Regions from separate parts of the Homo sapiens genome. Here all the other regions are linked to region 1. Evidence: promoter capture Hi-C in 16 types of primary human blood cells and fetal thymus (Javierre and others, 2016). All regions are on one chromosome and are shown on one strand. Each heading gives the region's core, a stretch centred on a gene start or on the middle of the fragment in contact. The rest is flanking DNA. Distances are from core to core; before and after follow the strand shown.

Evidence for each region. The method cuts DNA at HindIII sites, captures the fragments that hold promoters and counts their contacts. A CHiCAGO score of 5 or more calls a contact.
Region 2: a contact is called between the fragment with the promoter of GUCA2A here and the fragment with the promoter of PPIH in region 1, in 2 of 17 cell types (endothelial precursors and erythroblasts). The highest score is 6.1, in endothelial precursors.
Region 3: a fragment that was not itself captured here is called in contact with the fragment with the promoter of PPIH in region 1 in 1 of 17 cell types (megakaryocytes); the score reaches 7.1 in megakaryocytes.

What each region holds. Positions count from the first base shown.
Region 1 is chr1:42,656,235-42,660,051 of GRCh38, reverse strand. It overlaps PPIH (peptidylprolyl isomerase H), which reads right to left and starts at 1,629. Exons shown (of 10, transcript NM_006347.4): 1 at 1,540-1,629; 2 at 1,144-1,208; 3 at 801-824; 4 at 486-530. The coding sequence starts at 1,605. CCDC30 (coiled-coil domain containing 30) reads right to left here. Exons shown (of 21, transcript NM_001395517.1): 21 at 2,862-3,817. The region is part of intron 1 of LOC124904162 (a long non-coding RNA gene); the gene reads left to right. The HindIII fragment of the contact is 5,565 bases long and covers 1-3,817 here.
Region 2 is chr1:42,162,680-42,166,496 of GRCh38, reverse strand. GUCA2A (guanylate cyclase activator 2A) reads left to right here and starts at 1,752. Exons shown (of 3, transcript NM_033553.3): 1 at 1,752-1,859; 2 at 2,887-3,094; 3 at 3,527-3,807. The coding sequence starts at 1,785. The coding sequence ends at 3,591. RefSeq lists an enhancer at 928-1,892. The HindIII fragment of the contact is 7,781 bases long and covers 1-3,817 here.
Region 3 is chr1:42,349,405-42,353,221 of GRCh38, reverse strand. No RefSeq gene overlaps it. Among named protein-coding and RNA genes, the nearest start is that of FOXJ3, 16 kb to the right of the region's middle. The HindIII fragment of the contact is 5,212 bases long and covers 1-3,817 here.

The DNA.
Region 1 (3,817 bases), core at 380-2,879:
AAAGCTCTAAAGCTGTGATATAATTATGTGCTAACATTGTTACTAACCACAGTGAGGCCATGAGAAAGATTCTATATTGAAATGAGACTAAGTGTTGACATACTCCACTCCCCAGGAAATATGATTATCCTTGGACAATCATATATGATCATTTTAGGAATTAGTTATAAATATCAACCAGCAGGATATATTATATGCACTTTAGGATTACAAGTGTACTTTTTAAAAAATCTGCATTCGCACAAACAAGTGCATGAAAAAGACAAGATATTGTAAAGATGAGTAGTTTCTGTTTTAAAGACCTAAGAAGTGGGGGAGTGTAAGTAGAGTTAGAACATTTAATAAATCTTCAGTTGTTGAGTCCACAAAAACATTTCTTCTCAAGAAATGTAAGAATTACCCTCTGGTTTTATTTTCCTCTAAAGAGCCTAATCCCCCAGGAAATATTTCTGAAAGACTCCAGGATGGCTTGCCAAGAGCCTTACCTGTGGAAGGTGCTTCCTTTGTATCCTATTGGAACCCCATCTTTCCTATAACCGAAAAGAAAGAGACTTGGAGTGACAGCAGGTAGCACAAGGCCTTTCCAGTTTACCATGCACTGGAGCCAAAAGGACTCTCCTAAAGATGGTTGACAGACATAAAGAAGGCAAATAAACTAGGGACAGACCCTTGGGGCATTACCTTCTATCACTGTCACCAGCAATCATTCAAGGCCAGCAGGTGGTTCACCGATACCCTCACTGCAGCCCCAGAACACCCCTCTGGAGCAGGCAAAGAAGTCAAACACATCTGAAACTGACCTGAATTCTCCGGTGCAGAACTGCCTGAAAGGGACAAAAAATGAATGATTCAATCACTATGATGTCACAGTCGTGAGCGCCTCTAAATACGGGAAAGAATAAACACTGGAGCCAGCAAGTCCACCAATCGGCCAGCCAGACGTCCAGACACGCAGTCACACAGACTAACAACGTAAATTAACACGGGAACAATCCAAACGGCAACCAGACAGAGCAATGCATGGAGGAATCAGGTCTCAAGAGCAGTGAGCGGACGGACAGAGGTAGACAGGCTATTTCAGGCGGCTGACTGGAGCCCGACTTCTGCCTCAGCTAATCCAGCGGAGCTGGAGCACGTCCTTACCTAAAGTTCTCGGCCGTCTTAGGCACAACGTCTGCAAAGAGCTCGATCTTCATGCGGCCAACTTCCTGCAATCAGCGGGAGAGTGTCAGAAGGCCCAGTCCAAGACCATGAGGGCTTCACGGAGCAGGGGGCATGATGGGCTGACCCACCACCCTGCCGCTCGGTATCTCCCACCTCCGCCTCCCTAGTCTAACCGCCCAGTTCCTCCAGAAGCGGGGCGCTAGGATTGGGGAGACTCCTCCTCCTCCTTTCCCCCCGCCCGGCAGGTCGGTAGGTTCGGGTGCAATTTCACTTTCTGGCTGGCTTCCCGAGTCCGCTCTCTCTGGGTGAGTTCTGCCTGCCTAGCCCCGAGCAGTTTCCCTTCGGCGCAGGTGTGGGCAGCCTCCTGGATCTCACCTGACCGCCAATACTGACATCAAAGAACACCACGGGGTTAACAGGACTTGAATTTGCCACCGCCATGGCTCCGACCCGGAAGCAGAAGTCGGGAGCGTGGGATTCCGGCGAACCTAAAGCCCGGTCCGCGGATTTCGTCCGGGGAGCAGGCGCGGTAGACGTGGAGCGAGACCAGGCTCCGCCCCCGGAAGCTGTCGCCCCGTGCGGTGTGTGCTGAGACTGCTAGGGTCTAGCTGAGAGACTCTGCCTGGCACTGGGGACGCGGGAGTGAGGAGGAGGAAAGCCTTGACATCTTTTTGGTTAAGGTCAATGGTCACCCCACTCACGTGGCTGTACTAAGGGCAGTACAAGTTGATCTTGCTCTAGCTAGGACTTTTGGACTAGGCAGTCGCCAGGGTCCTCCTTATCGGCTCTTGCAGCCAAGCCCTCTGCACCGCCACACGTGCTGTCTGTCTTCTGCCCGCTAGTGTGAACACCGTGAAGGCAGGAACTCTGGTTTGTTCATCCTCAGCGTTTAGAACAGCTTGGCACGTACAGGCTTGCTAAGTAAATATCCCTTCCTCTAAGTCAGGACAATAGATAATGTTTGTTCTGCCACAAAAGCTACCAGTTTTGTCATTTCCAATTCATTTCCCATAAAGCAACTAGAGTTTTTTATTTTTTATTTTTAAAATAACTCTTGTGCTTCCTATTTATTTTAAAAATAACTCCTGGCTTCCCATATTTAGAATAAAATCCAATTCCGTGCATACGAAGCCCTACAGTGCATTTATCTGGCTATCACGTACCTGACCTCATCTTGTACCACTTGCCCTTAGTTACTGTGCTCTGACCTGTCTGTTCCTCCAGGTCACTGAGATCCCTCCTCTCTTTAGGGCTTTGTAATAGCTGTTACTTCTGTCTGAAATATTCCTTCCAGAACTTAATGTGGGTTGGCGGGGGATTGTGGGGGTTGGTTGGGGTATGCGTGTGGGAAGTAATGCTCCTTGTAGTTCAGGGCTCACCCCAGATGTTACCTCCTGAGAGGCAACATTAGACCTAATCTAAAGTAGCCCTTGGTCATTCAGATCACTGGTTTGTTTTCTTCATGCCACCCCCACTTCCACATTATCTTCGTATGGTATGTGTCTACACCTCATTTCCTGCCACACACACATAATCTTCCTCCCTGATAGCATATAAACTCCATGAAAGTAGAGACTCTCCTGGTCCTATTCGCAGCTGTAGCTGCAATGTCGCCTACTGAATAGCATATAGTAGGTATTCAATAAATAATAGATGCAATGAATTTAGTGAAAGAAGGGGACCTTGGGCAAGGCTCATTCAATATAACAGCATGCATTTAATAAAATAGTTATTATTTCCTAGTTCCTATGATCATCTTTCTAGCTCTGTTGTCTGAGAAAGCAAGGATTACATATAAAAATACAGTGTGTCTCAATGTAAAGGGTCATTTTTATTTCTGGTTACTGATCCTCTCCTCTTGGTCTCCTCCAACTGAAAAAGAAGAAAGGGGAGGAGGGGGAAAAGGAACAGCAGCAGTCACGCTTCAGTATAATTTTATACCAACTGTTTTAGAATAAATCTTTAAAATTGATAATATCCAATGTTGATGAGGTTGTGAAAAAAATAGTACATTGATAAACCTCTAGTGAAAATAAATGATGATAGCATTTATTAAGCAGTTACTACGTGCTAAATACTTTACATGCTTCATTTCATTTGGTCCTCACAACCCTATGGGATAGAGAACTATTATTGTTCCCATTTTAGGAATCAAGAAATTGAGGCTCAAGGAGGTTGAGTAACTTGACTATGAAAACAGTATGTTGACACACTTTTTATTTATTTTATTATTTATGTATTTATTATTATTATTTTTTGAGACAGAGTCTCACTTTTTGCCCAGGCTGGAGTACAGTGGAGTGGTCTCAGCTCACTGAAACTTCTACCTCTTGGGTTCAGGTGATTCTCGAGCCTCAGCCTCCCGCATAGCAGGGACTACAGGTGTGCACCACCATACCCGGCTAATTTTTGTATTTTTAGTAGAGACAGGGCTTTGCCATGTTGGCCTGGCTGGTCTTGAACTCCTGGCCTCAAGTGATCCACCTGCCTCGGCCTCCCAAAATGCTGGGATTATAGGCGTGAGCCACCGCACCTGGTCAGGCAGAACCCTTTTTTAAAGCAAAGGAAGTGATGTCCTAGAGCAATATTAACATTTATATCCTTTGACTCAGTCCAATCTTGCGAATTTGTTTTCTGGAGTAATTCAAAAGAA
Region 2 (3,817 bases), core at 503-3,002, 490 kb after region 1:
ACACCCCAGCAGACACACATCCCAGCAAACACACACACCTCGGTGTACACACACGCGCCTGTGTATATACACACTGACACACACACACCTCGATGTATATATGCACACCTCCTTGCACAGACACAGATACCTTGGTGTACACGGACACACATATACCCCTCAGCATACACACACATACACCTCAGCATATATACACATACACTCCTCAGTGTACACACATGCCTCAGCACACACACACCTTCAGCACAAGCACACATACAAACACACCTTGGCTACACACACCCATCAGGGTATATACAGACACCTTGGCATACACAGACATACACATCTCCGCAGACACACCCCCCCTTAACACACACACACACACACACACACACACACTCACCAGAAAGGGGTGGGAAATCCAGTGCAGCTGTGAGGACTGCCCTGGGAGCTGGGCCAGGAGCTACCTGCCCCTCCCTGAGGGCCTTGTCCCTGCAGTTCCCTCCTGGTCAGGCCCTGCTCTCTCCAATTCCCTCTTCAGTGTTGACTCTCCCCACCCAGGAATTCCTGCCCAACCTCCCGCCCTAGGGCTGTCCTGGCATCGGGCCAGGTTGGCTGAGTAGAAAGATGACAATCCCAGGGCTACCCTTTCTCCTGTGTCCTGGGGATTCCTGCTCACAACAGCACACAGTGAATGCACGCTGCCCTGAGGGCGCAGTCTGAATGGGGTCAGAGTCTATAGGGGCGCGGGCACACCCAAGCAATTCCCCAGTGAGATCCGCGGAAAGGGGACTGTATCTGCAGGGGCAAGGGGGGCGGGCGGATTGGGGAGGAGCTCATTCGAGGACACCCTGAGGCTGCAGGGCAGGCAGGACAGGATGGGGACCAGCACAGGATGGGGACAGCCTGTGACTCAGACAGGCAGGAGGTCACCAGAGGGGCCAGGGAGGACCAGGAGCTGCTGTGGCTGCTAATAATATGGGAATGGACCTCTGCTGAGCACCTTCTGTGTGCCAGGCATTGAGCTAAATGTTTTTAAAACCTCACTTGATTCTCCAAACAGTAATGCCTACCACACACCTACCCCATGAGGTAGGTATTATTTTTGGTTCCCACAGGGGACACAAGGGACAACGAGACTCAGAGAGGGGAAAGCATTGGCCCAAGTTCACACGCCTCACAACTGGGCAGTAGGTGGAACGGAACCCAGGCTGTGCGGAGGGCTTCCTTGAGGTCGCGGCAATCAAACCCAGACCCTGACTTGCCCTGCAGCCTCCCCCGTGGAATTTCTCACATTTCCCTGAATATTCCAGGCCCGTCTCACCTCCTGGCTGTCCCTTTGGCATGAAATGGCCTTCTGTCCTCAGTCCCTTCTCTGGGAAAACTTCCACCCATTCTCCAGAGCTCAGCCCCCAGTGCAGCCCCGTCACCTCATCCTAGGATCACCCCACCCTAATCGCCCTGCGTTTCACTGTCGGGCTGGGCCCCCCTCCTCAAGGGCAGGGTCTGCCGGCCCCACACAGCAGCACAGGGCAGTCGTGAGTGAATGTGCCTTGTTGGTGAATGAATGCAGGACCCAGCCCGGCTGTGGGTCAAAGTAGGTGCTCAGGGAGGGGCCGGGGCCCCCCCTGCCTGGCTCTTATCTCCTAGGGCTGTCTCGAGCCTTATCTGATAAGGCCTGACAGGTGAGCAGATGAGACTGACAGAGGCTTCCAGGTTACTCAGTAACCTGCCCTCTTTAAAAGTCCCGCCGCTTCCCCCTGGCATCCAGAACAGCCACCCCTCTCTCGGGCACTGCTGCCATGAATGCCTTCCTGCTCTCCGCACTGTGCCTCCTTGGGGCCTGGGCCGCCTTGGCAGGAGGGGTCACCGTGCAGGTGAGTCCTGTGTCCCTACCCCGGCCCAGCTGGCTCCCTGCCCCTAGTGCCCAGGTCTGGTCCCCTGAGAGAGTACCTCCTCTTTGGGGCTGGATTGAGGGTGTGTGTCCCAGGCTTGGCCTTCTTCGAGGAGCTCCTGCTCAGTCCAGCCACACACACACCTTTCCCTTCAACTTTGGAGGAGAAAGAAACCCAGTGGAGGGAAGAGGAATAACCATATGGGGAAGGCGGGGAGTTGGCCAATTTACTGAGTGTCCTATGTGCCGGCTCCTTCCCCAGCCCCTCACTGTGGCTCCACTATCAACCTGGAAGAAAGGGATCATTAGTCCCATTTTACAGAGGGGAAAACTGAGCCTCACAAAGGTTCTGTAACAGGCCATGGGCACATGGCTGTGGGAAGTGCAGGAGCTGGATTTAAATCCAGACCTTACTCCTCAGTGGGTCCCAGGAACCACATGGACACCCTGGAGGTCCTGACAGATGGGTATGCCTACCAGTGCCAATGCTGGCGACAGGCCAAGCTGGCACCTAGCGGGGGCCCTGATCTCTATCAAAGCCAGATTCCGGGAGGCCTTTTATTGCTTCTCAAACCAAAACCAGGCTGCAGGCTGGAGCTGGGGGCCCAGTAATCAGCCGCACCGCTCTCAGGCAGGGGAAAGACAGCCTGGGCTTGGCCACGTGGAACTACGATGCCTGGGTGCTGGTCCTTTGCCTCTCCCTAAAAATCAGCACACTGGCTCCTACTCATTAGGCACCTATGGTGTTCCTGGAGCTTCACACCCATTTTCTCCATTCCCCATACAACATGCAGAATTTGCGGGTTCCAGAGTGTCCAGCATCACGGAGCCAAGCCAGGACGTGGGGCCTGAACTCTGCCCCTCACAGTGCCCCACTGTGGATCGCCTGGCTCCCATATGCCACGAACACTGCCTGTGAGCACCACTGGGCTGGACCGGGGCCAGCACGGGGGGCACAGCCAGGAAGCAGGCTGCAGCCTGGCCTCATGCTCTGGGCTTCTCTCTTCCAGGATGGAAATTTCTCCTTTTCTCTGGAGTCAGTGAAGAAGCTCAAAGACCTCCAGGAGCCCCAGGAGCCCAGGGTTGGGAAACTCAGGAACTTTGCACCCATCCCTGGTGAACCTGTGGTTCCCATCCTCTGTAGCAACCCGAACTTTCCAGAAGAACTCAAGCCTCTCTGCAAGGAGCCCAATGCCCAGGAGATACTTCAGAGGCTGGGTGAGCAGCCTCCTTCCTCTCTGATTGGTGGGGTTCGGGAATACTGTGGTGGCACTTGAGGAAGAGATGTGCTCTGATTGGTGGGATTTGGAGGAAGGGCTCAGCTCTGACTGGTGGAACTAGGGAGCTTGGCTCTGATTGGTGGGTCTGTTCCATGCCCACTTCAATTCCAAGTTGTAACTGCTGAGGTTTGGGAACTAAGACCATTCATCTGGTCTTAGTTTCCTCTCTTTCTGGTGGAATCTCTGCTTTGATTGGTTGGTTTGAGTGGTCTGTGTGCCCTGGTTTGGGGCGAAAAGCCCAGTAGGTCAGAGTACGGGCCTGCTGAGATTCTCCTGGGGCTGGGTGGTGACGTACAAGCTCTGGGCCAAGGGCGGCAGGGGCCTCGCGAGGAAATGCTGGTTCTCACGAGGCTCCATCTCTGTTGTGCAGAGGAAATCGCTGAGGACCCGGGCACATGTGAAATCTGTGCCTACGCTGCCTGTACCGGATGCTAGGGGGGCTTGCCCACTGCCTGCCTCCCCTCCGCAGCAGGGAAGCTCTTTTCTCCTGCAGAAAGGGCCACCCATGATACTCCACTCCCAGCAGCTCAACCTACCCTGGTCCAGTCGGGAGGAGCAGCCCGGGGAGGAACTGGGTGACTGGAGGCCTCGCCCCAACACTGTCCTTCCCTGCCACTTCAACCCCCAGCTAATAAACCAGATTCCAGAGTACTCTGGGTGT
Region 3 (3,817 bases), core at 798-3,297, 310 kb after region 1:
GGTAGGTTGGGACCTGGGCACCAGAGTCATTGTGTCTTCTGATGTACTGAGAGCAACGGAGGCCAGGCTCTCACTCTGTGGGGAGATTGAGAAGTGTTGGGAAATGAAGGAATGTCAGCAGCCCCTGGGGCTCCCCAGGGGGCAGGTGTATTATTTTGGTCCTTTAGAACAACCAATTTTCCATTTATTGACTAATTCATTCCTTCCCTCTACATTTGTAATACCACCTTTGAACATGTCAAGTCTGTGTATATTCATGGACTTCTTTCTAAGGTCTCTTTTCCATTCCATTCAACAATTTATCCCTAAGCTAATGTCATACCATCTTAAATCTTATAACTTTAAAATAAGGCTGGGCGCGGTGGCTCATGCCTGTAATCCCAGCACTTTGGGAGGCTGAGGAGGGCGGATCACCTGAGGTCAGGAATTCGAGACCAGCCTGGCCAACATGGCAAAACCCTGTCTCTACTAAAAACACAAAAATTAGACGGGCATGGTGGCGCATGCCTGTAATCTCAGCTACTCGGGAGGCTAAAGCACAAGAATCACTTGAACCCAGGAAGTGGAGGTTGCAGTGAGCCAAGATTGCAACACTGTACTCCAGCCTGGGTGACAGAGCAAGACTCAGTCTCAAAATATAAATAAATAAAATAAAATAAGTTGATATGTGGTGGCACAGTCTTTCTATGTTGTTCCGCATCTTCAAAATTATCTTGTCCTTTTCTACTTCCAAATGAATCCTAAGATCAGACTGTTTAGTTCCACAAAAAGTCATAGCTGGATTTAATTTAGAATTGTATTGAATTTATGGACAAATTAAGGAAGAATTTATATCTTTATGATATTGAACTCATGAACCTGGTGGATATCTTCATTTATTCAGATCTGTGTATGTATTTGTATTTGTTCTTCAATTTTGGAATTTTCTTCACAATGATCTTACATAATGTTTGTCAGGTTGATTTCTAATAATCTTTTTATTTGTATCAGTATTGTGGATGAGATCTTCATTTCTAATACAGGTTTTAATTATTTATTGATATTGAAAGTCTATTGAGCCAGGCATAGTGGCATATAGCTGTAGTCTGAGCTCCTCTGGAGGCTGACGCAGGAGGATCACTTCAGCTCAGGAGTTTGAGGCTGTAGTACACAGTGATCACACCTGTGAGTAGCCACTGCACTCCAGCCTGGGCAATGTAGTGAGACCCCTGTCTCTAAAACAAATAAAGAAAGAGAAAAGAAAAAAGAAAGGCTATTGATTTCTTTATTGGTCTTGAATATGGCAAACTTGCTAAACTCCCTTACTAGCTTTAATAGATTCTATTCTAGCTCAGGTGTGGTGGCTCAAGCCTGTAATCCCAGCACACTGGGAGGCTGAGGTGGGCGGATCACCTGAGGTGAGGAGTTCAAGACCAGCCTGACCAACATGGTGAAACCCTGTCTCTACTAAAAATACAAAAATTAGCCGGGCATGGTGGCGCATGCCTGTAATCCCAGCTACTCGGGAGGCTGAGGCAGGAGAATCACTTGAAACCCAGGAGGCGGAGGTTACAGTGAGCCGAGATCGCGCCACTGCACTCCAGGCTGGGTGACAGAGCAAGACTCCATCTCAAAAAAAAAAAAAAAAAGATTCTATTTTATAGATTATTTTGGGGCTTTGTATGTAATCAATCATATTATCTCTATATAAGGACCATAGCTAGACTTTTAATTCCAGTTCTAAAGATTTTTTAAAACCATGAATGAGTGTTAAATGTTGATGCCTTTTCTGTATTTATTGAAAAGGTCATAGTTTTTCCTCTCTTAATCTGTTAGAGTGGTATACTACATCAATAGATTTTAGGATGCTGCACTTCCTTGCATTTCTAGGATAATCAACACAGTCTTTACAGAAACAACTCTCATCCTTTTGACATTTATAGTACATTGGTCTATATAACTATATTAAATAAATTAGTTAGAATATCAACTACACATGATGTCAATAGGTTATTAAATAAAATACAAATGACTCCAGATGAGCATGAAACTCAAGTGCACAACAGCCCATTATCTATAAGGCTTCACACTGATGGTTCTTTTAAGATAGTAGAAATAGTATCAGTTAAGTGGAAGTCAACTAGAAAGTGTCCACTGTTTAGGGAAATTAGTGATTGTGGCAACATACCCACTATATGCCAACATGATTTGTTTCTATTCAACTAAATTCAAGAAATAGTTATGGAGAAACTACTATATATTAAGTACCATGTTAGGCATCATGGCTAAACACAAAGGTGAATCAAGCAGTTTCTATTCACAAAATATTTCCCAAACTAGTAGACAGGTTAAGTAAGATCAAGTGCTTAAATATCTCATCAAAATACAAAGCAGAGTAAGACAGATGTCCGAGGAAATACAAAGGTTATCACATATCATGGAGGGAAAGTGTAACTTGGGGAGAGGAGTAATCAGGAATGGAGTTTTGGAGAAGGTAGATTTTGCAGTGAACTAAGTGGGAGGTTAGACCATTGGTGTCTATCGCAGCCAGCCCCTTTAACTGATCTCTATTAGTCTCAGCAATCCACTTTAAAAGCAATGAGAGCTATCCCATCTGATGTGTTCTGATGATCACTTCTTTTCTTGCTGGACTTGCGCACAGATTCTCCCTTTCTGTCCAGCCCTTTCATGTGAGATGTCCATCCCCTAATCCTTGGAACCTGTGAATATATTAATTTACATGGAAAGGGAGAATTAAGATTGAAGATGAAGTTTAAGGTTGCTAATCAGCTGATCTTGAGATGGAGAGATTATCCTGTATTGTCTGTATTGGCCCAATGCAATCACAATGGTCCTTAGAAATAAAAGAGGGAGGCAGGAGAGTGAGTGTCAGAGTGATGTGACATGAGAGAGACTCGACCATTGCTGGCTTTGAAGATGGAAGTGGGCTATGAGCCAAAGAATGCTGGCAGCTCCTAGAAGTTGAATAAATCAAGGAAATAGATTGTCTCCTAGAACCTCCAGAAGAATGCAGCTTTTGCAAAACCTTGCTTTTAGCCCAGTGGAACCTATTTCAGGCTGCTGACCTCCAGAGCTGTAAAATAATACATTTATGTTATTTTAAGCCATTAAGTTTGTGGTAAGTTGTTACAACAGCAATAAGAACTAACACAAAAGATTAATAAAGCCAACCAGGATAAAAACAGGTTTGGAAGGAAAGGTCATAGCTTTGCTCATGTTGAGCTGAAGAGCTAGTGCCTGTCTGTGAAAGGCCAGCAGGACAGTGGAAATGTGGGTTTGAATATCAGAAAACAGGCTGGGATTTGGAACCTTAAAATCATTTCATAAAGGGGATATTTGACACCTAGAGCATGGGTGAGATGTTTTTAGGAAAAACATTTAGATCAATGCTGTCAAATGGAAATATAACACAAGCTGTGAATGCAAGCTACACATGCAATTTAAAATTTTCAGCAACCATATTAAAAATCTAAAAAAAGAAACAAGTGAAATTAAATTTTAATTATGTATTTTATTGTACTAAACATATCCAAATTGTTTTTTCAACATGTAATATAAAATTATTAGATATTTTACATTTTTACACAAAATCTTTACAATCTGATATGCATTTTACACTTACAGCACATCTCAGTTCAGCATGTCTATAAATAATTTCATGGGCTCAATAGCTATCATGTGGCTAGTGGCTATGGTACTGGGCAGTGCAGTTTAGAGAAAGAGCAGATACAAAGGGTGGAGCTTTGAGAGACACCTGCATTTAGGAGACGGGAGAAGGAAAAGGAGGCAATAAAGAAGTGGACAGGGCCGGACACAG